Linked DNA regions of Homo sapiens: all the other regions are linked to region 4. The links are contacts of gene promoters, found by promoter capture Hi-C in blood cells and fetal thymus (Javierre and others, 2016). All regions are on one chromosome and are shown on one strand. Each heading gives the region's core, a stretch centred on a gene start or on the middle of the fragment in contact. The rest is flanking DNA. Distances are from core to core; before and after follow the strand shown.

What was found. Contacts are between HindIII fragments. The CHiCAGO score rates a contact against its expected background, and 5 or more counts as called.
Region 1: a fragment that was not itself captured here is called in contact with the fragment with the promoter of CAPRIN2 in region 4 in 11 of 17 cell types (total B cells, naive B cells, activated CD4 T cells and 8 more); the score reaches 13.6 in total B cells.
Region 2: a contact is called between a fragment that was not itself captured here and the fragment with the promoter of CAPRIN2 in region 4, in 1 of 17 cell types (monocytes). The highest score is 7.5, in monocytes.
Region 3: a fragment that was not itself captured here is called in contact with the fragment with the promoter of CAPRIN2 in region 4 in 1 of 17 cell types (non-activated CD4 T cells); the score reaches 5.0 in non-activated CD4 T cells.
Region 5: a fragment that was not itself captured here is called in contact with the fragment with the promoter of CAPRIN2 in region 4 in 7 of 17 cell types (total CD8 T cells, activated CD4 T cells, naive B cells and 4 more); the score reaches 9.9 in total CD8 T cells.
Region 6: a contact is called between a fragment that was not itself captured here and the fragment with the promoter of CAPRIN2 in region 4, in 16 of 17 cell types (total B cells, non-activated CD4 T cells, activated CD4 T cells and 13 more). The highest score is 37.3, in total B cells.
Region 7: a contact is called between a fragment that was not itself captured here and the fragment with the promoter of CAPRIN2 in region 4, in 2 of 17 cell types (naive CD4 T cells and naive B cells). The highest score is 5.4, in naive CD4 T cells.

Annotation. Positions count from the first base shown.
Region 1 is chr12:29,356,381-29,359,413 of GRCh38, forward strand. It overlaps ERGIC2 (ERGIC and golgi 2), which reads right to left. Exons shown (of 14, transcript NM_016570.3): 7 at 1,243-1,344; 8 at 2-97. Among named protein-coding and RNA genes, the nearest start is that of ERGIC2, 23 kb to the right of the region's middle. The HindIII fragment of the contact is 614 bases long and covers 944-1,557 here.
Region 2 is chr12:29,239,259-29,242,498 of GRCh38, forward strand. The region is part of intron 1 of FAR2 (fatty acyl-CoA reductase 2); the gene reads left to right. Among named protein-coding and RNA genes, the nearest start is that of FAR2-AS1, 77 kb to the right of the region's middle. The HindIII fragment of the contact is 3,311 bases long and covers 1-2,988 here.
Region 3 is chr12:29,300,253-29,303,305 of GRCh38, forward strand. All of the region lies in intron 4 of FAR2 (fatty acyl-CoA reductase 2), which reads left to right. The region is part of intron 3 of FAR2-AS1 (FAR2 antisense RNA 1); the gene reads right to left. Among named protein-coding and RNA genes, the nearest start is that of FAR2-AS1, 16 kb to the right of the region's middle. The HindIII fragment of the contact is 3,345 bases long and covers 1-3,053 here.
Region 4 is chr12:30,753,077-30,756,229 of GRCh38, forward strand. CAPRIN2 (caprin family member 2) reads right to left here and starts at 1,875. Exons shown (of 19, transcript NM_001385503.1): 1 at 1,675-1,875; 2 at 268-483. The coding sequence starts at 444. LOC645485 (a long non-coding RNA gene) reads left to right here and starts at 1,998. Exons shown (of 2, transcript NR_135046.1): 1 at 1,998-2,195. RefSeq lists enhancers at 1,249-1,328, 1,332-1,501 and a silencer at 1,429-2,108. The HindIII fragment of the contact is 2,894 bases long and covers 892-3,153 here.
Region 5 is chr12:29,339,570-29,342,678 of GRCh38, forward strand. ERGIC2 (ERGIC and golgi 2) reads right to left here. Exons shown (of 14, transcript NM_016570.3): 13 at 2,165-2,247; 14 at 1-1,649. The coding sequence ends at 1,587. Among named protein-coding and RNA genes, the nearest start is that of FAR2-AS1, 23 kb to the left of the region's middle. The HindIII fragment of the contact is 4,925 bases long and covers 1-3,109 here.
Region 6 is chr12:29,373,768-29,376,690 of GRCh38, forward strand. The region is part of intron 1 of ERGIC2 (ERGIC and golgi 2); the gene reads right to left. Among named protein-coding and RNA genes, the nearest start is that of ERGIC2, 5.9 kb to the right of the region's middle. The HindIII fragment of the contact is 2,633 bases long and covers 92-2,724 here.
Region 7 is chr12:29,321,443-29,324,298 of GRCh38, forward strand. FAR2 (fatty acyl-CoA reductase 2) reads left to right here. Exons shown (of 12, transcript NM_001271783.2): 10 at 353-482. Among named protein-coding and RNA genes, the nearest start is that of FAR2-AS1, 5.0 kb to the left of the region's middle. The HindIII fragment of the contact is 3,687 bases long and covers 1-2,856 here.

The DNA of each region.
Region 1 (3,033 bases), core at 1-2,500, 1.4 Mb before region 4:
CTTGCCCACTGTTATGTGAAAATTCCCTGCTACTTTATTGACATATAGATGGCCATGAATTCTGCATGCATTTGGAGACTGTGATGAATCATCTTCTCTGTTAAAATAAGATATATTATTTAAAGCACATTCAATACAGTTACCATTTTATGATGAGAAAAATGTGTATAGAAAAAAAAATCCCTAAAGATCATTTTTTAGGTAATATTCTAAATGTTAAAAATAGAATAGTTTCCTGAAGTCTAGACATTTATAAAAATTATACATCTATAAAATGGGAAAAAAGTATTTAATATCTATTACATTTACATAAATTTGAAATTCCATGGTTCTTCAACTCTAACCAGAGGACTAAGTCCAGTGACAGAAGACTAAAACAAAATAATTAGTCCAAAAAGACATATTTTTTTCATTTATTTCTGGTACTGTAGCAGGGAGAGGGAGGGAGGGCAGAAACATGATTGAGGTAAAGGAAAGGCATGCCACCTAAATTCAAAGAGACAGTGACATTTTCTTCCTAAGCAAATGTAAAATCTTGTATATTTTTATTATGTTTATGATTATAGCATTTCCAAATATCCACGAATCTTTTTTTTTTTTCTTTTGAGACACAGTCTTGCTCTGCTACCCAGGCTGGAGTGTAGTGGTGCAATCTTGGCTCACTGTAACCCCGCCTCCTGGGTTCAAGCTATTCTCCTGCCTCAGCCTCCCAAGTAGCTGGGACTGCATACATGCACCCACCACACCCAGCTAATTTTTTTGTATTTTTCGTAGGGACGGAGTTTCACCATGTTGGTCAGGCTGGTCTCGAACTCCTGACCTCAAATGATCCGCCCACCTTGGCCTCCAAAAGTGCTGGGATTACAGACGTGAGCCACTGCGCCCAGCCTCTAATCTTTAATTAAAATACAAAAACGGGAAATAAAACAAAATTTCTAACCAAAGCTTATATATCCTCAAAATAGTAAATGAAACTAATTTTTCTTAAAACTCAATATAATTTTATGTGGGGGTATACCACGCATAAAAAAGAAAATTAAATGCAAATAAATATTTGTGATAATTCTGATCAAAATCACAGGCTATAAATTTAAGAGCAAAAGGCGTCTTTATAGTACAGAATGATTCTATTTTCCCTTCCTAAGAAAAATAAGATTCAGAAAACTAAACCAACACTTTAGTTTTAACTATGTCAAAGTAAATTCATAATAAACAGTTGCACATTTAAAATACAGATCTCACCTTGGTGGAAGAGCTGTTGATGTACTTTTAAAAGCACTTTTAAATATCACATCTTGAAGTGAATGCTCTTCTTGTAGCCTACTCTGAATCAGCTGCAGCATCCTAAATAAGAAGCAATAATTTAGAACTACAGAAAGGTACACAAAGAGAGCTGACACTTATTCAAAAATGACAATGTTTAGCTGACTTAGTTAAATCATACATTTATTATTACAGGATTTCATATTCTAAAATAACATACCAAGTTTTCTTTGGTCATTTCCTTGAAAGCAAATGAGGCAGGGTGGCTAAGAGGTCTAATAGCTGAGCTCCATAAGCTTGTTTGATTCCATCAGTAATGGATGTGCCATCAGGACCACCAAAGTAGGGCTTCTACTCACTTAAGTATCTCAATTCATCTTTCATGCATACATGCACAATTAACAAAATTCTTATCTTTGTCAGACACTGAATGAAATATTGTAGATACAAAGAGTAGGACAAATAAGGGGCTACACAATGGACTTGATGGACTTGAAATGGTACATTACTCAGTATAAACTCATACCACAAGTAACTGATTTTCACTACAAAAATTTTTCTCTCTACAATACTTCTACCATTGAGCCATGTTAACTCCTACAATTTTCAGCAATAACTTTGTGTCATTAGATGTAGTCCTATTTTATCTCTTTTAATTCTATTTCTTCAAATAACTAATATTCCAAATCATCTGTAGTAAAGTTCAAACTTGGTAAGTACAAATGTTATACACAGTGGGAAGGGAAGAATAAACAGGCAGAGCACAGATAATTTTTACAGCAGTGAAATCATTCTGTATGGCAGTATGGTAGATACATGTCCTTATACATTTGTCAGAACTCACAGAATGTACGTTCAACACCAAGAACGAACTCTAATGTAAACTATGGTGATGATGATGTGTCAACATAGGTTCACTGATTATAACAACTATATCCAATCTGATGCAAGTTGTTGATAATGGGGGAACCTGTAGCGGGACGGGTATATAGGAACACTACTTTCTGCTCAATTTTGCTGTGAGCCTAACTACTCTAAAAGAAAAATACATACATGTAACTTGGAAAAAAGTTATAAACATAGGTACTCACAAAAAGAAAGCAAATGTGAATCTCATAATACTTTACCATCCCACCATAATGATAAAATAAGTACTTTCTAGATGTGCAAGCAGAAGATTAAAAACTTATGCATCATCTATCTAGAAAATTAGTATAACAGGCCTATGTAAAATAACAACTCATATTTATACTGTATAGTTTGGAATAAAATAAATCTGAAATCTCGACATAAAAAGTAGAAACCAGAAAGGTTCTGTCCAGGGTTTGAAATTTACAGTTAAAGAGAGATTAATTGTGATCCTAAATATTTTAGGAAAGTATTATAGAACACCAACTGAGAGAAAATTTAAATCTCTTAGAAAATTCTAGAAGTAAAGAACATTTTGGTATGCACATTAGTTAGGAAGATATCTACCTTGGGTATCTCTAGGCCATTCAAGAGCTATTTAATAATGTTTAGAATCAGAACGTGATAATCTAGGATGCTTCAAGAAGCCAGATCCCATCTTCAGATTCAGACATTTAAAGACATTGAATCTTTGACATTGAATCTTTGGATTCAATGCCAGCAGAAATGGAAATCTTCACTTTTTTTGTGTCTTGTAATTCGAGAGATCAACTTTTGAAGCATGGCAGTGATCAAGGGGTTTGATGACAACAAACTATACATACGTGTATATGTATGTATATATTATGTGTGTTTATGAAA
Region 2 (3,240 bases), core at 83-2,582, 1.5 Mb before region 4:
TAAACAAATAGGGAATTTACTGGAAGTAAAGGGGATAGCCACACAATCAATGGAATGGCTAGAGAACTGGCATGAGAAAGGGCAGGAAACCCTTTCCATTTCCTAAGAGCTATCAAAGTCCTGTTTTTTTGTATCTAGAAAAGTATTAATTGACTAGATTATCTGGCCAATGTGCCACAGCTAAATGAATCAACTGTGTGTGTGTGTGTGTGTGTGTGTGTGTGTATAAAACTTTGTGTCCTTTTACTCAAAGTTAAAAATTTTATCCCTTGGCTAAGAGGGCAGAGCATCTTGAGTAACAGCTCCCAAAAGACTACCCACGTGGGAAGAGATGATGTGAGGTGATGACCAGTAGAGGAAAATGCTGGAAAGCCACAAAACAAATGTCCCCCAAAGTCATCATAACCAAAGATTTTATATTTTTTCAAAGTGCAAAGGCAGAGAAATATTATCCTTCAACAATGTAATAATAATTTAAAATCTGGCAAATCCTTTATATATATGAACTCAGGTTTTGAAAATTCTTCTAAGTAGATGATTAATATATATCCTCTGGCTTTATTAATGACAGAAATCTTATTGTTGTATTTTATTTATTGTTGCTACACAAGAAGGACAGATAGCTTTCCATGTTTTAAAACAGAAAGATGATTTAGGTATTCTTTGCCCCTATATTAGTCCTTTTCAGAGAACCACTATCCAGTCATCTGGCTCTTACTTTCCACATTACTTTTATCCTATGTTTGAGATGGTATCTGCTGCCCCAATTTTCTAGCCTTCACATCTTCCATCGTTCCAAGAGCTTCCAAAATCTCTTTCTCTATCAAAAAGACAAATGTTTATATTCTCCTGACTCCAGCTGTCGACAGCGTGGCTCATAAGATTCACTTACCACTGTTTATACAAAATAGTATAATTTCAGATATTTTAATGACAGGTTGGAGTCAACCTTCCCTTTAGTAAGCAAAAACATAACTCATGCCAGATTCCAAGCATTCTGGAAGTCAGAGCTTACACCTGCATTTCCAGGGATTCCTGGCCAATTTGTAGTTTCACCATCAACTCCCACTCTGAAGTCCTGCTTCCGTGCAATTCTTCCTCTCCCTGCTAATTGGCTCACTACCTGTCAGGACTCCTCCTTCCATATGACTTCCAATGGCCGACGCTGCTCCACTTTCCAAAAGTACCACCAATATAACTGTGTAGCAAGCACTCCCAGAAGGGGTGAGGTGACACAGAGAAATCATGGCACAAAATGGGTTGTTTTTTTTTTAATTTGAAAATGTGAATTTACTGCCTTGTCTCATCATCCACAGCCCAGTTTGCTTCATGGGCATTCCCTCTCCCACCAGGCACTCAAGCTCTCTTACTCCTCTCTGGAATGTAGTCAGGCAGCGTTTAGTAACTATATCCAGAGATGAAGTCATTGAAAAAGGTAACTGAACTTTGTAATTAATCACAGGCACAAGGTATACATCTTAAAAATATATGTACGTTTCTCTAAAGCACTAGGAATGTCATTGTGTGTGTGTGTGTATGTATATTTTTTTTTATATATTTTTTTTGAGACTGAGTCTCATTCCATCACCCAGGCTAGAGTGCAGTGACACGATCTCAGCTCACTGCAGCCTCCGCTTCCTGGGTTCAAGTGATTCTCCTGCCTCAGCCTCCTGAGTAGCTGGAATTACAGACATGCACTACCACATCCAGCTAGTTTTTGTATTTTTAGTAGAGACGGGGTTTCACCATGTTGACCAGGCTGGTCTCGAACTTCTGACCTCAAGTGATCCACCCACCTCAGCCTCCCAAAGTGCTGGGATTACAGGCATAAGCCACGCACCCGGCCTCATTGTGTATTTAAAAGCTAGTATTGAAAGTGCCACTCTGAATGTGTACTAAAGAAAGATTAAGCTATGCACATGCTACACATATAATGTATGTGTGTGTACAAATATAATGTGTGGATGCTTTTGTATGTATGTACACATATGCCAAAATGTGTATGTATACATGTCTCCACTTCATCTTTTTTTTTCTTCTTCTAATATTGCTGTGGCTTTCTATTTTGTATCTGATGGAAATCTGGAAAGACTTTCTCAAGAAAGTGAAAGAGGAATTTCTGTAAATTTAGATTGATCTTCTTTATTTATTTAGATTGATCTAGTTATTCTGTACATCATGGTTTCTGTTTTAGTGTGTATATACTACTCAGTATTTTTCCCTTCTCTGCAGGAAAAAAAATGAGTTTGTTCTCCCTCTCCTTCCTCTTATCTCTCCAGCTAATTCTCTTATTTCTTTTTTTATTCTCTCACACTGAGGTGTTTTTTGCAGACTTTATCACAACCTGACAATGTTCTCAATGTTTCCTTTGATGCTGAGTTCTTTTTAAAAGACGTATGAAATGTAAAATCTCCCTTCCTTTCCCAGATCAATATTTGAAATAAAAAGCAGGGCAAACACCTTCAAAACGAAAAGTCTCCTGTTTCCTGTTGCCTATTCCAGCAGCAGGACTTGGGTTGCTTGCCGTTTTTCCTGCTTTTCATTTCCGAGGAGGCAGGAGCACCTCAGATGCTCCAGGGAATTGTTGATTCCAGAGAGAATTGCTGATGGGTGTAGCACCCCCTGGGTGCGTGCATCGAAGCTGTGAACAAATCCCCCCTTTCCTCACTAGAGTCTCTACAGAGAAATCACCTCAGCCCATGTATTCTGTGACAGCTGAGGATGGCAAATGTGGGAGCAATGTGGGCTTCTCCTGGTGCTAAGTCTGAACACAGAGCATAGGCCTTGCCTCAAATGTTTGCAAACATCCGTGTTAATGCTCAGCACGCCACTTTACACCGAAGGAGTCACACCAGTGTGACACACGACTTCAAGACTTCTGAGGAGCTAGAAAGGAAGTTTATGTATTTGAGGCCTTTCCCTTGGCTTCACTCCATTTAGAACTGGGTGACTCAAAATGACAAATAAGGTGTAGTAATGAAGACAAAAAGCTTCTTTAAAAAAATTATTGTTAATCCACTTCTCTTTTTGACCTCTGAACAGCATTATACTAGGGAGTTTACCCAGTCCTCTCAGTGAATAAGCTTGTGCTGAAATCCTGTGTTCTCAAGCTGGCATGTTATGTTGAAATGCTTTCAAGTTACATAAACGCCCACACTTACTAAGTGCAATTCCCTAATTGAGTCACTGGGAAGCAGCAGAAGTGAGCAGCACTGTGGTCCTGTGACACAGTGACAGTAC
Region 3 (3,053 bases), core at 255-2,754, 1.5 Mb before region 4:
TTTCTGGTTGTTCATTTTTTTCTTCTTAAACTTTGAATGAAACCTGTATGTTAACTTTTGAATAGCACTTTAAATAAAACCCAGCAACCCCTCACCAACTATACCATGATCTACGACTATTTCAACGACTCCTATACCAGATGGAATTTTTGGAAGTTTTAGAATAACAACATTAAAAATCATTCTGAATAAATATCAATTCACCTAAATCCAGGTTTAGTTTCTTTGTTTTAGGAAAATACTTTGTTTCTTTGAGTAATTCTCTATTTAGTAATTGGTCTGTGTTAAAATGGAATTATTTTCCAAGGTTTTTAGGTTTCTATTTCCCCTGGGAGTTTTCCTTTCTTTCAGTGCAACAGAGAAATGCCTGGGGGAAAGTTGTTGTTGTTGTTGTTGTTGTTGTTGTTAACAGTAACTTCAAGGGGTCTAGTGGCTGCCATTGCTCTTAGTAATTCAGCAGTTCTTATTTATTTATTTATAAGGAACCAGGCGTTAGACAACAAGATGATCTTGAAGCTGTACTCTTGGCATTATATTCTCAAGAAAATCACCATGACGACGTAAAATGAAACTTTATTTTTCCAGAAAATCAGTTGAATGGGAATTCCAGTTCTGGGAAATAAAGAAGGATATGCATTTTTGGCCCGGACCTTTCCTGTTTGCTTGGGCAGCAGTGGTACTGCTCAGTGTTGTTAATAATGGGACTGTGAACTTGAACCCCATGCTTACATCCTGGTCCCAACCTTTGCAGGCCTAAAGTCTCTGCTCATTCAGCTCCCCCCATTTTCTATCCATCCTGTATGCTGAGACTGTCAGGCCTGAGCTCCCTTTCTTTAGCCCCTATCTAAAAACTTTTAGCATTACCTTGGCCCTGAAATATTCCAGAAAGATGAAGTTAGTACAAAAACTTTAGCACATTAGCAGAAATATATTTTAAAAATAACTTAAATCAGGAGTTAATGCTTTTAATGAGTATGACAAGCCTGGCCGTTAATCAGTGTTTAGCGACTCATTTTCCTGGCTCTTATATCTGTAGTTGTCTTCTGCCCCTCATCCCAGCCACCGGTTCCCATTCTGACTCAGCTCTACCTTCATATTGCCAGCTTCTGCCTAGTTGGTATATTTACCTTTGGAAATTTATGTGCATAAATGGATCAGGGATTGCCAGTGAAATTCCAGTTTTCCAGAATAACAGCTTATGTAGAATGTTTATTTTTTAAAATGCACATAACTGACCAAGAAAGGCAGGGTTTTATGGTTGGTGCTTTCCTTATTTTTTAGGTCAAGGTAACTCCTCTTAGGGAAAGCAGTGTAGAAGAAAAGGGCTTTTGTGCCTGTATAAAAACCTGAAATAACTGGAAGCAGGTACTAGAAAAATGGAATCACAAATATTTATTGCTCTATTGAGCATATGTAAATAAATCTGAATTAAGAAGGGAAGGGAGGACATGAATCATTATTGAGCAATTACTGTGAGGAAGACACTTCCACAGACATTTAATTCCATAACGTAATATTGTAAGGTTGATATTATTATCACTGCTATACTAATCACGGAGCAAAAAGCTCAAAATGGCTAAGTAACTCCTTGAAAGTCTCTCAGACACAATTTTTATCCATGGCCACTTGATTCTGAAGCCCATGGTCTTTCCAGTCTACTCACGTACTTGGCAGTGGTAGAGATTAAAAGGTGCTTTCTCGCTGCGTGCAGTGGCTCAAGCCTGTAATCCCAGCACTTTGGGAGGCTGGGTTGGGCGGATTACGAGGTCAGATCGAGACCATCCTGGCTAACGCGGTGAAACCCCGTCTCTACTAAAAATACAAAAAATTAGCCGGGCGTGGTGGTGGGCGCCTGTACTCCCAGCTACTCGGGAGGCTGAGGCAGGAGAATGGCGTGAACCCGGGAGGCAGAGCTTGAAGTGAGCCGAGAGATTGTGCCACTGCCCTCCAGCCTGGGCGACAGAGCGAGACTCCATCTCAAAGGAAAAAAAAAAAAAAAAAAAAAAAAAAGGTGCTTTCTTAAGATATAGACTATGTTCCAAAGAGCTCGTATCCAAGACAAATAGAACACGGCAGAATTATACACGTGTGGTGGTGGGGAAACAGGTCATATTAAGTCTGGTGGAGTGGAGGGAGGCATATGAGAAGACTTGGAAGAGTGGATAGAGTGTGGATAGGTGAGATGTGCACACGTGCCTGGCAGGGCAGCTGGAGCTGGGAAACCCAGGCGTGTTTGGGACACAGCCAGTAGTCCATCTTGGCAGCGCATGTGTTACGTGTAGGGAAGAAGTTAGAGATCAAGCTGGAGGGGAGGATGGGCCATACTGTGGAGATTTTGCATACCATGCAGAGGAATTGTATTTAATTCTCTATGCAGTAGAGATCCATTGAAGGAGGGCCATGTGTGCGCATGCATTTTTGTGTGTAATTTGGGGTTGTTTGCTCATTTGTTTTCATCATGGAAAAATACTGATGAAAGTGGGCTTCAGGAATATTAATATAGCCAGGGGCCGGGGGAGGCAGTGGATTAGCATAGGGAGTAGACGGAGGAAGCGAGACCCATTACCAGAGAGGAGTAGTATGGAAGACTAGAATGAGGGTGAGGCAACAGGTATAAAAAACATCTCCATGTTTTGGGAAAGAAAAAAACAATAGGACATGGCTACTGCTTTGCATATGGGGTTGCACCTATCAAATTAACTCCAGATTAGAACATGCATACTTGTCATGTTTTGCATTTCTAGTACCAGGGATTTAATTCTTTTAAAATTCAATTCTGTTGAAATTTTACTCCATGAAGCAATGCGTTTTTGAGAGCTAATCCTGATATATTCAAATCTCAATGACTTAAGTTTATGGAGTGGACTTCTTTTAAATTAGTGATTCCCTGATTTGCCCGACTGTTGGAATTTCCAGGGCATGTTGAAAATACAGATTATCAGACTCTTAACTCTGCAGATGTATTTAGTGATTCTAAAATGGTACCCAGGAATCTGGATTTTTCCCAGGGGCCCTGTGTAATTCATATTTATGAGCAGGCAAGTTTGGGAAAG
Region 4 (3,153 bases), core at 625-3,124:
ATTAATCTCACCTAAAATAGCTAGCTCTTAAAGTATTTCAACAGCAGCATGCATAATGTAACTATGAAGAATATTTTTATTCCGTTGTTTTGACAAATGAAACAGAAAATGTTTAATATTTCCAACACGTAACCTGCTTGTTTAAAGCAGCTAAACCTAAGGTTAGTTAAATTTTTAGTAGAGAACACCTATGAGCTCTGAAAGAAAAATGTCAGCTCCTTAATCTTTAAGATCATGCATCTACAGGACTGGAAGAAAAAAAGTTACCTTCTTTTTCTCGATGTTTCTAATTTTGTGTTTAAGGCATATGAGTCCATTTTCAATATAGGTCTCATACGCTTGGGAAGGAGATGCAGCAGAACTCAGAGTAGACTGCAGGGGGCTCAAGGCCCGCTGGCTTTCCCCATGCTGACTGTGGTTCACTTGGGGCTTGGCTGACTTCATATTCCCCTCTCTTTCCTCCTCTGAATGGCCTGAAGGTGACTGGTAACCAAAAGGGGATGAAAAGAGTTGCACCATTGAAACAGATGAGGCTGAAGGAGGTGGGGGAAAGTTAAGTATAAAATTAGGACTAGAGGGACACAGCCAGGCAATAACTTCCCTGGAAAGTCTAGACCACTCCCTTAAACTCTTTTCCACAGAAGTGAGCTCGAAACCCAATGATGCTTGAGATACTTGTACTTCCATCCTACTTTTAAAGTAATTAGTGCCGCTAGCCAATAAGGATAGCCTTTACATAGGCAAAATCTCCCAATACGGAGGATGTTTCCAGAAATTCGATTTTCCACATAGGGAGGAAGAACTGCAACGGCTTCAGAGCTCCTTTCTTCTCATGAGGGCAGATCACATTCTAAATAATTCCCATGGCCACGTGATGACACCAAAAGAATAAGCTTTCCACACCGGGACCTAAGGCTGAGCCACTCAAACCTCTTTACATGATCCCTCACCACCAGCCCTAACCTCAATCCTGAACGTTTGGAAGAAAATCCAAACTCACAACATTCTTTTATAGCTCTAAGTGAACCAGCAGCTTCTTGAACAAGAATGCTAACTTCCCCGATTGCTCTGGGGCCTACAAGGCAATCCATCACTACTGGACATTTGCAGACAGGTACTCTCTCAACCTGCAGGAACCCCGCGTTTATTCTCAGTTGTTTGGTTTAGACTAGCCCAAAACCGCTTACACCCAACCAGTTTAAGAGCTCATTCTAGCGAGCCCTTCCCGTGCCCTAATCAGTGGCCCTTGCGCACTTACGTATCCGTCTCTCGACCTCCAAGCACCCGAGGTATCCCTTTCTCCCCCCTTAGGAGCATCCCCAAACCAAGGACAGAACAGGCCCCATGCACGCCAGCGCGCACCCCCTCAAGTCTCCGGGGGAGCCTGAGCGAAGAGCACCTCTCCCGAGCGGCCACGGAGAGCCCTGCAGGCACCGACCCCCACCCTTCCCACAGCCGCCCCGGGTACGCAGAAGCCGCTTCTGCAAGGCCCCGGGGGAGGCTGACCTGCGGAAAACGCACCGACCGCGGCCCTCGGGAGCCCCGCCCCGCCCCGGGGATGCCAAGCCGCCCCTCCACCTCGCAGCGGCGCCGGCCGCCCAGACCTGCCCACCCTCGCCGGGTCAGCCGCCTCCCTCCGCCGCGCCGACCGAGGCCGCCGCAGCCCGACTTCACCTCCCCAGGCAGCCGAGGCCGCCGCTGCCGCAGCCCGGGCCCGCCTTCCAAAGCCTGGGGGAGGCAGGAGCGCTGCGGAGGTGGACCGGCGCCACCCCGCACTCGCGTCTCCTCCTCCTGTCTCCTCCCTCTCCCCTCCCGGTCCTCGCCCGCGGCCTCTGCGGCGCCAGAGACCCAGCCGACTCAGCCGCTCGCGCCCAGGCCCGCCCACCGCGCCGCGCGTGGCTTTTGTAGGCCGCGCCCCGCCCCGGCCCGCTCCGCCCTCGGCCGCCCCGCCACCGCCTCCTTCCGGTGCTCCTTCCCGGCTGCAGCTGGCCGCCAGCGCTTGTCGGGTGTTAGTTCCGGGCCCAGCTTGGGCTGGTGGTAGGTCGGGAGAGGGCGCGGTCTCCCAGCCTTTGCGCAGATTGCGGGGCACCAGGTGGGGCCGAGGCGACGCCGAACGCCGGCAGGCCGGAAACCGCGCAGCCCCGCTGGACCTCGCTGATTGCCGGCGGCACCGGTGGTTTCGCGACCTTGAACAGGTGACTCCAATAGCTCCAGGAGGGCAGCGAGCCCTTCGCGGAACTACCAGATAAGCCATGCTTGAGGCTGTCGTAGCCTAGTGGGTAGTCGTGAAATGCAGATGCGCCTTTGCCCCTCAGATAGCATCTTTCATAGTAGGATGGGGAAAAAACACCGTTTCCTTACCGGGGAATCAGCCTGTAAGAGCAGAATGCCCCAAATCAGCATCGCCATAAAAACGGAGTAGGTGACTTCGCAACCTGCAATAATAGGATTGAGTTTATTCAAGCCGTATTATTTGTTCATGTGACACACATTAATTGACTGGCACGCAGAGAAAGCTGTAAAAAATCTTTGTAAGGTTACATAAAATTAAGAGAAAAGTCTGGAAATATGTAAAAGTTTATTGAGGAAAGGAAGGTGTTTCTGATACCAAATAAGAAACACACACACACACTCAGCAATACTTTGCCCCAACATGTGTTTACTTATTACACCAAGTGGAGTTTTTTAGGTCCTGATTGTCCCTGACGCTCTGATAAAAAATATTGAGACTAGCAAAAGAACAGAAAATTCAGAAGAAGAATCAAGGAAACAAAGGTCTAGTTTTAAAAGCCTTGGTCAACTTCACACAAATTAATTTTAACATTACTTAATACATTTTTTTGGCATCTATTATCCGTGTTCTTTTCGGTCCCTGGTGACATAATGTACCCTAATGTTGCATTTTAACTTTGAATCTCTGAATCCCATATGTGTTCTTCAGGGTCAGAGAAATACTAGATTTTCCCTTTTTCTCATTGTTTATAAACAGAGAAACGCAGAAGATGCTGAACATGAGGAGAGGAAGGCTATGCCTTCACCTTTGGTAACACAAAAAACAGTGGCCATAAGAAAAAATGTGAAGGACACACTGTTGGATCAATGAGTTGACACAAAGTTACAGCACAGCCTGAGTTGTAGTCCGAGCTAATGATG
Region 5 (3,109 bases), core at 329-2,828, 1.4 Mb before region 4:
CTTTCAAAGTATGTTATATCACTTATTTTCATCAGTTAACGTCATGGCTCTTAATGATATATTTTTTAAAGTGATGCTTCTGTTATTTTCTGCAAAACGTCATTCTGCATAAACTTTACTGCAAAACAGACCCATCACTATTTCTCCTTCTCTCCATTATATTGTTTATCCTGTTTTCATAAATTTATCTTTAAAAAAATCCATTTGAAAAACTGTTACTTGTGATATCCTGTTTTCTAAAACCACTATTTTAAATCTAGTTTTTCAGTCTTGTTATTTACCTGGAATTTTGTTTCCCCATTTCCTTAAATGATTTAAACTTTGAGGATTGGCTGCTGATTCTTCTACTGCCATTCAGTACTACAAAAGGAAAACTGATATTGGTACACATATTCCAAATACAGCTTTTAATAGTACCTGTGTGATAGCTCCCTCTCACTGTTTTTAATCTTTTATAATGTGAAGATTTAGAACCAATCCTTAAATAGTAAGAAAGTTAGAACACAATCTAATACAGAATCAATCATATTCAGGACACCCTGAATGCAAATACTTCATAATACAGTTTTATAGTTTAATGGACAATGTTTAACATGGCACCTCTCAAATCTGATATATCTTGTGGTGCTTACAATTTGCCTTACACTTTCATTTAAAGTTACCCTGTTCTCCACTCACCACATGTATAAAATATCCTATTTTTTCTCTTAATGTTTTACAAACCGGTAATTTTCACTATCAGTAGCGGATCTTTTTATAACTCACCCTATGTTGCCCAAAATACACCAATAATATAATGATTAGATTAAAAAACTTGGCATCTTTTTTAAAAAAATGTGCTTTCTTTTCCGTGTATAAGATTCTACTATACCATTTGTGAATGACACCCTAGTTACATAACACCTACATATCTGCCCCTGTGAGAATTTACCTTAGTCTTCTAAGACTCTATCTTCAACAGTTAGATAAGTCAATAACCAGAGTTCAAAGAAAAGTAGTTACTTTTTAAGACCAAATTATTGGATAACTGGTCTTGTCAATATGGCTTAACATTAATATGGCTATAACATAGGGACTAGCCCGTTTTTTTTTTTTATTAACAATGTGACCTGATCACAATTCTTTAAAGTCTAGACTAGTTTTCCGTATGTTTTCCACATTTTATTCTGACATCATATCTTTTAAAAACAAAAGGATGCGAACATTTGCACTTCTCAATGTTTTTTTTTTTCCCATAGATGTAGTTTCACTTATTTCCTTCAGGCTTTTTATCAGCAAGAAGCAATGTCTGATTTTGATACCACCCATTTGCTATGAAAATATAAGAAGGCGTCATCTTCAAAGCAACACTCCAGTTGGGCTTCTTCATCGTTTAGCTGCATGATTTCTTCTACGACATTTGTAACAGACACAACGTATATAGAATTTCAGTTTGGGTTTTTTTATCCTTTTTTTTCTTTTTTAAAATAAGTATGTTTTCTGCTTATTTGTGTTTTCTTTTCTTTGAATATATTGCACAATATTTTATTATTAAAAAAAGGTTTTATGTCTCAGGCAAAAAGTTTTTCTCCTTCAATCGGGAGGTGTTAATGTGTATTATTTTCTAAAAGAGGTAAGTGGTTGTCTGTGTGGCCATCCTCAAAAGGAACCTAAGGAGAAAAGGAGGGAAAAAAAGACCAAAGAATTAGTTTTATTCCTTATACTCTTTCCTCTAAACACAAGGTTTTATTTTGGGCAATCCTTTCTAGTAACCAAAAGCTACTATTTCTCTCTCTCTCTCCCCCTATTTCTCTATCTCTCTATCTCTATCTTTTTTGAGGCAGGGTCTGCTCTGTCACCCAGGCTGGAGTGCAGTGGTACGTACGATCATAGCTCACTACAACCTCAACTTCCTGGGCTCAAGTGATCCTCCCACTGTGCCCTCCCAAGTAGCTGGGACTACAGGCTTGCACCACCTTGCCTAGCTAATTTTTTCTATCTTTTGTAGAAATGGGGCTCTCACTATGTTGCCTTGACTGGTCTCAAACTCCTGGGCTCAAGCGATCCTCCCGCCTTAGCCTCCCAAAGTCTTGGGATTACAGGTGTGAGCCACCATGACTGGCTCATAGACTTAACAATGATTCTAAGATTTAGAGATCAGCACCATGTATACTACACCACTTACAGAATTGACAGGTTTATAGGATCCAAGTCTGAAACGACAGCAAATTATTTCAACTATAAATTTTCCAATTCCATGTAACATGCCTGTAATAAACAATAAGTTTATGCTTTTAATTATTTCCTAAACTGTTATTTAAGAATAAATAACTATAATGGAATAGATTACGGAAGAAAACAAAGCAGTTTGCATTATTCACTTCCATGGTTAAAAATAATCAAGAAAGATTTTAAAACAAATGGATTTCTTTTCAAAGTCACAAGGCCACATAATTCACGATCTCAGCACAATCTTTTTTTTTTTGAGACGTCTCACTCTGTTGCCCAGGCTGGAGTGCAGTGGTGCAATCTTGGCTCACTGCAACCTCCACCTCCCAGCTCAAGCAATTCTTGTGCTTCAGCCTCCCAATTAGCTGGGATTACAGGCATGTACCACCATGCCCGGCTAATTTTTTATATTTTCAGTAGAGACGGGGTTTAGCCATGTTGGCCAGGCTGATCTGGAACTTCTGGCCTCAAGTTGATCCGCCAGCCTTGGCCTCCCAAAGTGTTGGGATTATAGGCATGAGCCACTGCACCGGGCCTAAACACAATCTTTTCAAGGTTTTCCCACACCAATACAATTTTGGAAAATAAATGATGTCAACAACACAAATTTAAATAGATTGAAATGAAGCACTAACAAAGAATTTCGAAAGAAAAGCTATTCATTCATTTAAAAATATGATTCTAAGTATAATAAACTACCCAGCTCCATCTAATACTGAATAAGGACTGAAGATGAAAATAGAATTGTTTCCTTTTTCTCTATTGTACTTAACTCCCAATTTTCATCATTACAATTCGACAAATAATCTTAGCGAATTCCAGGATCTCAGGACAAAAATCATAAACATGTTACTGATTACAAATCTAGTTTCATGTATTGCATAATTCAAAGTACTATAAC
Region 6 (2,923 bases), core at 158-2,657, 1.4 Mb before region 4:
GAAAGAAAAAAATAGATGTCATAGACAAAACAGATGACAGTTTTCTGACCCCCACGTCAGTTATAAAACTGGTATTCCCATCGATAAATTAAGCTTCTGAATGTTTGTTATGTATATGCCATGCCCGCTAAACTTGTTTAGCTCTGATAATCAAATTTATTTTCTGTACCTTTTTAGTAGTAACTGCACAAAAACTGACCCTTTTTCAATCTTTCAATTTCTACTCTTTCTGATTTGAGTAAAATATTAAATATCTGTATGTCTCTTCTCTTTAAAACAGAACTCTCCCTTAAACTCAAGTCCAACTCCAACAATACATCTCTCGCAGCACACCTACAGCCAACTTAAAAGAATGAGTTGTCCCCATTCATCTACTGTGACTACTTCCTCACCCAACTCTCACCTCTTAACTAAATTTGCTCTGAGCAAGGTAATTAACTTCCTTAGTACTGACAGACACTCCTCAGTCCTTATCTAACTGCACCTCTGAGAAAACACACTGCTTATCACTTCTTTTTCTTCTCGAAACATTCTCTTACCTTGACTTAAGTGATATCACATCCCCAATTTTCATTCTACCTGGAAAACCCTCTTTGGCTTACTGTGCAAATTCATCTTTCTCTCAAGATTCTGCACTAGGTCTCCCCCTTAACCTCCACACCTTCCCCAAATGATCGCCCACTCCTTCCATTTCAATCTGCATGTTGATTTATCCCAAATCTTGATTCTCTGCCCAGATCTCTCTGCAGATATGTATAACCCCTTGCCTTCTGTTACCTTTTCATTTGGACATTCCAAACACAATTCAGACTCAACAAGTCCAAAAATGAATACTTCACCCTGTAAAAATTGTTCCTCCTGTATCTATCTTAATGATAACACCATAAGCCCAACTACACAAGCCAGAAACATGGGTTATATCTTTAGACTTAAGCTATTTCTAAATTTCTCTTAAATCTGCCTGTCTTCTCTTCTTCAGGCCTACTGAGAAATTCCTTATGTCCAAGTATGTTCCTAGTCCCAACTGCCACAATCTATCACTACATTGCTTCAACAACCTCTAATCTTCAACCTTCCAATTCTCTCTCTATACTGTAATAATAAATTATCTTTTTAATACATAAATCTGATATTTCTCTTCAAATCTTTGTAAAACTTCCCTTCCCACTACACTTAAGAGCTTGGATTCTATCCTAACATGTTTTACAAAGCCCTTCAAAAACCAGGTCCTGCTAACCTCTCTTCAAACCCAATCACTCACAGTCTACGTTCCAACCATATTAAATCACTTTCAATTCCTTAAATATCCTATTCTCTTTGCCAGAAATATTTTTTCTTCCCCCTACCGCATCTCTACATTTGACTAACTCCTACTTACTCTTCAAGGTCCAGTCTACTCATCTCTACCTTGAGCAAGCAGGGGGAACAAAAAAACTTTCCATGGCCTTCAAAGTCTATCTGCTTCTAGAACGTTGTACCTTTATCACACTATTTCTAATTGCCTCTTTTTCTGTTTCCTCCACCGGATTGTTAGAGCAGGAACCATGTCTAACTTGATCTTTGTATCTCCAATGCCTAGCGAACAGGTATTCAATATTTATTGAGAAAAGGAAGGAAGGAAATTTTCCCAGAAACACCACAGTAGCACATCTTTCAAATCACAGCAGTATGTCATACTTAGGTAAGTAAATATATAAAAATAAGATCCACAAGAAGGATTTTCCTGTTGTCTACTGTCCCAGGACCTAGAACAGTGGCCATCACATAGTCAGTATAGCACTGTTAAACAAATGAATAAAACAGTGAATTACATTTCTAAAAGTTTATATAAATGTTATATTTGTATAATGAGCTTTCTAAATGCTCTTTTAATTTATATATAAGCATAAAGATACGGCAAGCAGTTAGTTTTACAAATCTCCTAATAATACATACAACCTATTCAACACTCCTCCCTTGAAAGTCTAGCTGGAATATATCATGTGGCTCCCTACCCATCTCTAGCTTCCTCCATCCCTGTTTTCCAGGGGATATCACTCTAGAATGGAGCACCTCGCCCCTCAGCTACTCCACCAGTCCCATTCCTGAAAGCTCAGCACTAACCTACCTCCAAGAAATTCATTCCATTTTGCATACTTGCCAACCTACTGTAAAAGTCACTGTCTGGCATAAACAAGGTATCCAATAACTTCTAGCTTTTCTAAAAGAAATTGCTGTCTGCTCTCTTTATAAAACCTGACTTTCTATTGGCAGCAGTTCCATTCCAATCCTTAGTCATTTCTGAGACTCACAGGTTACAGAAGTATCATGTTTTACCATATTTCTCAACCATCTCTCATGTTTTGTGCTATGTATTATTTGAAGCTCTTTAAACATTAATTCATTTAATCTTGTAAATGACTCTATGAAGCAGCAGGTACTATTTTTAATCCTACTTTTTGATGAGGAAATGAGGCACAGAACTGTCAAATAATTTTCCCAGGCTACATAGCAGGTGGTAGAACTTGAAACTATGCTCCAAACCACAGTACACACTGATTCTCACTTCCGTACTTGTTGCTATATTCCACTAACATCTGAATATATTCATAATTTGCTTAATGACTTCAGCACCCAGATCATTCAATATGCTTCTCCCCCACTCCATTATCATCCTTTGGAATTCATGCTCTGATGGCATTTATCCTATAGCATTCATTCACAATAAAACCTTTTTACCATGTAAGCTTAACAGCGCTTCTCCTCCTGTGACCTCCATCTTAATTCTATGGAAAGCCACCCATGAGCAAGGTCAACCCTTAAAACTGTTCCACCTCTAAAATCCAAAACACATTTACCTCCCCAAGTAGGAACTACCCTTCAAGCTCTTTCCTAAGATAAATCTGCTCTTCATTTTCACTGGTGTTCTCAAATCCTTTAAATC
Region 7 (2,856 bases), core at 114-2,613, 1.4 Mb before region 4:
GAAAGTTTTCTAATTGTCTACATCAGAATTCAAAAAATGAACAGTATGTCATTCAAGCTGAATAGTTGGCTCACTTTTAAAATAGGTTTGCTATTCTTGAGAAATAGGTGTTAGAAAAGGAGTCTGGTATTAAATGCCTAACAGAACAAGCTCCTTTAGATCCAGCCCTTTTCTTTTTCTGTTGAATGAATAGAGAGTTAATGTGGAAGGAGAAAAAAGAAGAAGAATTTTAATGAGGAGTGGTAGACAGGGATAATTTTTGTATTTTCTTAAAAATAATTTCTCATACATCCCTGTAGAGTGACAGGGAAGTGGTGCGCTGATATTTACTCCTATCTGATGGTTATCTCAGGATGACAAAGCTCATGAATCGGCTTTTAAGAACTGTTTCCATGTTGGAGTATTTCATCAACCGGAGTTGGGAATGGAGCACGTACAATACAGAAATGCTGATGTCTGAGCTGAGTCCTGAAGACCAGAGAGTAAGTAGAGCACTGACTTAAGCACCAGGAAAATGCTACTCACTTGGAATTTAGAATTATTTGATTTGGAAAGCTGATGAATGAATAAGACGTTTGGTTATAGACACAGATTTTGTTTTGCTTTGTTTTTCTAAGAAAATCAGTCAATGCTATCAACACCACCGTAGGAAACAAGTTTAATGTAAGTAAGAAATGTAGGTTCTTGGACTTTGGTTAAATCTTTAACTGCTGATCTGCCAACATGTTTTATCTACTGCACTTCAATCGTTTTGTCACTCCTTGATAGTTATCATTTCTACAAACCCTCAGTACCTCTGGGTGGCTGTGTTCTTCCCTTATCTGCCACAGCATATGACTTCAATGAAAAATAATGATTTTATTGCTTATAAACTCAATCATCCACTATTCTTGTCCAATCAAAATTGTTCTGCCTCTCCCAGCTACAGTTCCTTCCTTACCTTGTTAAAGCTAATCCCTACACCTATGCACTCTGCCTCACCTCAGACCTCCCTTCATCAGTGCTGCATCGTCGATCTCCCTCTCTATAGGATTTCTCTACAACAGTTCAGACTTTCATTTCTCAAGACAGGTCTTCAGTTTAATTCCTTAGCACCAGCACCACTTATTTCTTTAACTTCTTGGCAGTCACAAAGGATAAGTCCTAAAATCTTTGCATATTCTGAAATTCTTTTGTATATTATACATGTTCCTAGCCTTTTTCTCAGTCATGTATCCCGTTTTTAACTAAATTTTAAGGTTTTCACTCCATATTGATTGACATTTCCCACTAAGAAACAATTTTCTAAAATGTATCTTTTGTTTTATTTTGTACCTGACAGCATGTAGAAGAAACCAAGTCACACTGGGGAGTAAATATCAGATGGCTGTATTTTCCAGGTGTCATCTGTCACCCCTTTCTTTGACTAGGAAAGGGAATTCCCTGACCCCTTGCACTTCCTGGGTGAGGCGACGCCTTGCCCTGCTTCGGCTCACGCACGGTGCACTTCACCCACTGTCCTGCACCCACTGTCCGGCACTCCCCAGTGAGATGAACCCGGTACCTCAGTTGGAAATGCAGAAATCACCCGTCTTCTGCGTCGCTCACGCTGGTAGCTGTAGACTGGAGCTGTTCCTATTCGCTCTTCCAACGGGCTTAACAAATGGCACACCATGTGCGGGAGCACATGGCTTGGAGGGTCCTATGCCCATGGAGCCTCACTCATTGCTAGCACAGCAGTCTGAGATCAAACTGCAAGGCAGCAGTGAGGCTGGGGGAGGCACGCCCGCCATTGCTCAGGCCTGAGTAGGTAAACAAAGCGGCCTGGAAGCTCAAACTGGGTGGAGCCCACCACAGATCAAGGAGGCCCGCCTGCCTCTGTAGGCTCCACCTCTGGGGGCAGGGCACAGACAAACAAAAGACAGCAATAACCTCTGCAGTCTTAAATGTCCCTGTCTGACAGCTTTGAAGAGAGTAGTGGTTCCTCCAGCACGCAGCTTGAGATCTGAGAATGGGCAGACTGCCTCCTCAAGTGGGTCCCTGACCCCCAAGTAGCCTAACTGGGAGGCACCCCCCAGTAGGGGCGGACTGACACATCACACGGCCAGGTACTCCTCTGAGACAAAACTTCCAGAGGAATGATCAGGCAGCAGAATTTACGGTTCACCAATATCCGCTGTTCTGCAGCCACCGCTGCTGATACCCAGGCAAACAGGGTCTGGAGTGGACCTCCAGTAAACTCCAACAGACCTGCAGCTGAGGGTCCTGACTGTTAGAAGGAAAACTAACAAACAGAAAGGACATCCACACCAAAAACCCATCTGTATGTCACCATCATCAAAGACCAAAGGTAGATAAAACCACAAAGATGGGGAAAAAACAGAGTAGAAAAACCGGAAACGCTAAAAATCAGAGTGCCTCTCTTCCTCCAAAGGAACGCAGCTCCTCACCGGCAACGGAACAAAGCTGGACAGAGAATGACTTTGACGAGTTGAGAGAGGAAGGCTTCAGAAGATCAAATTACTCTGAGCTAAAGGAGGAAGTTCGAACCAATGGCAAAGAAGTTAAAAACTTTGAAAAAAAAATTAGACGAATGGATAACTAGAATACCCAATGCAGACAAGTCCTTAAAGGAGCTGATGGAGCTGAAAGCCAAGGCTCGAGAACTACGTGACGAATGCACAAGCCTCAGTAACCGATGCGATCAACTGGAAGAAAGGGTGTCAGCGATGGAAGACGAAATGAATGAAATGAAGCGTGAAGAGAAGTTTAGAGAAAAAAGAATAAAAAGAAACGACCAAAGCCTCCAAGAAATATGGGACTATGTGAAAAGACCAAATCTACGTCTGATTGGTGTACCTGAAAGTGACGGGGAGA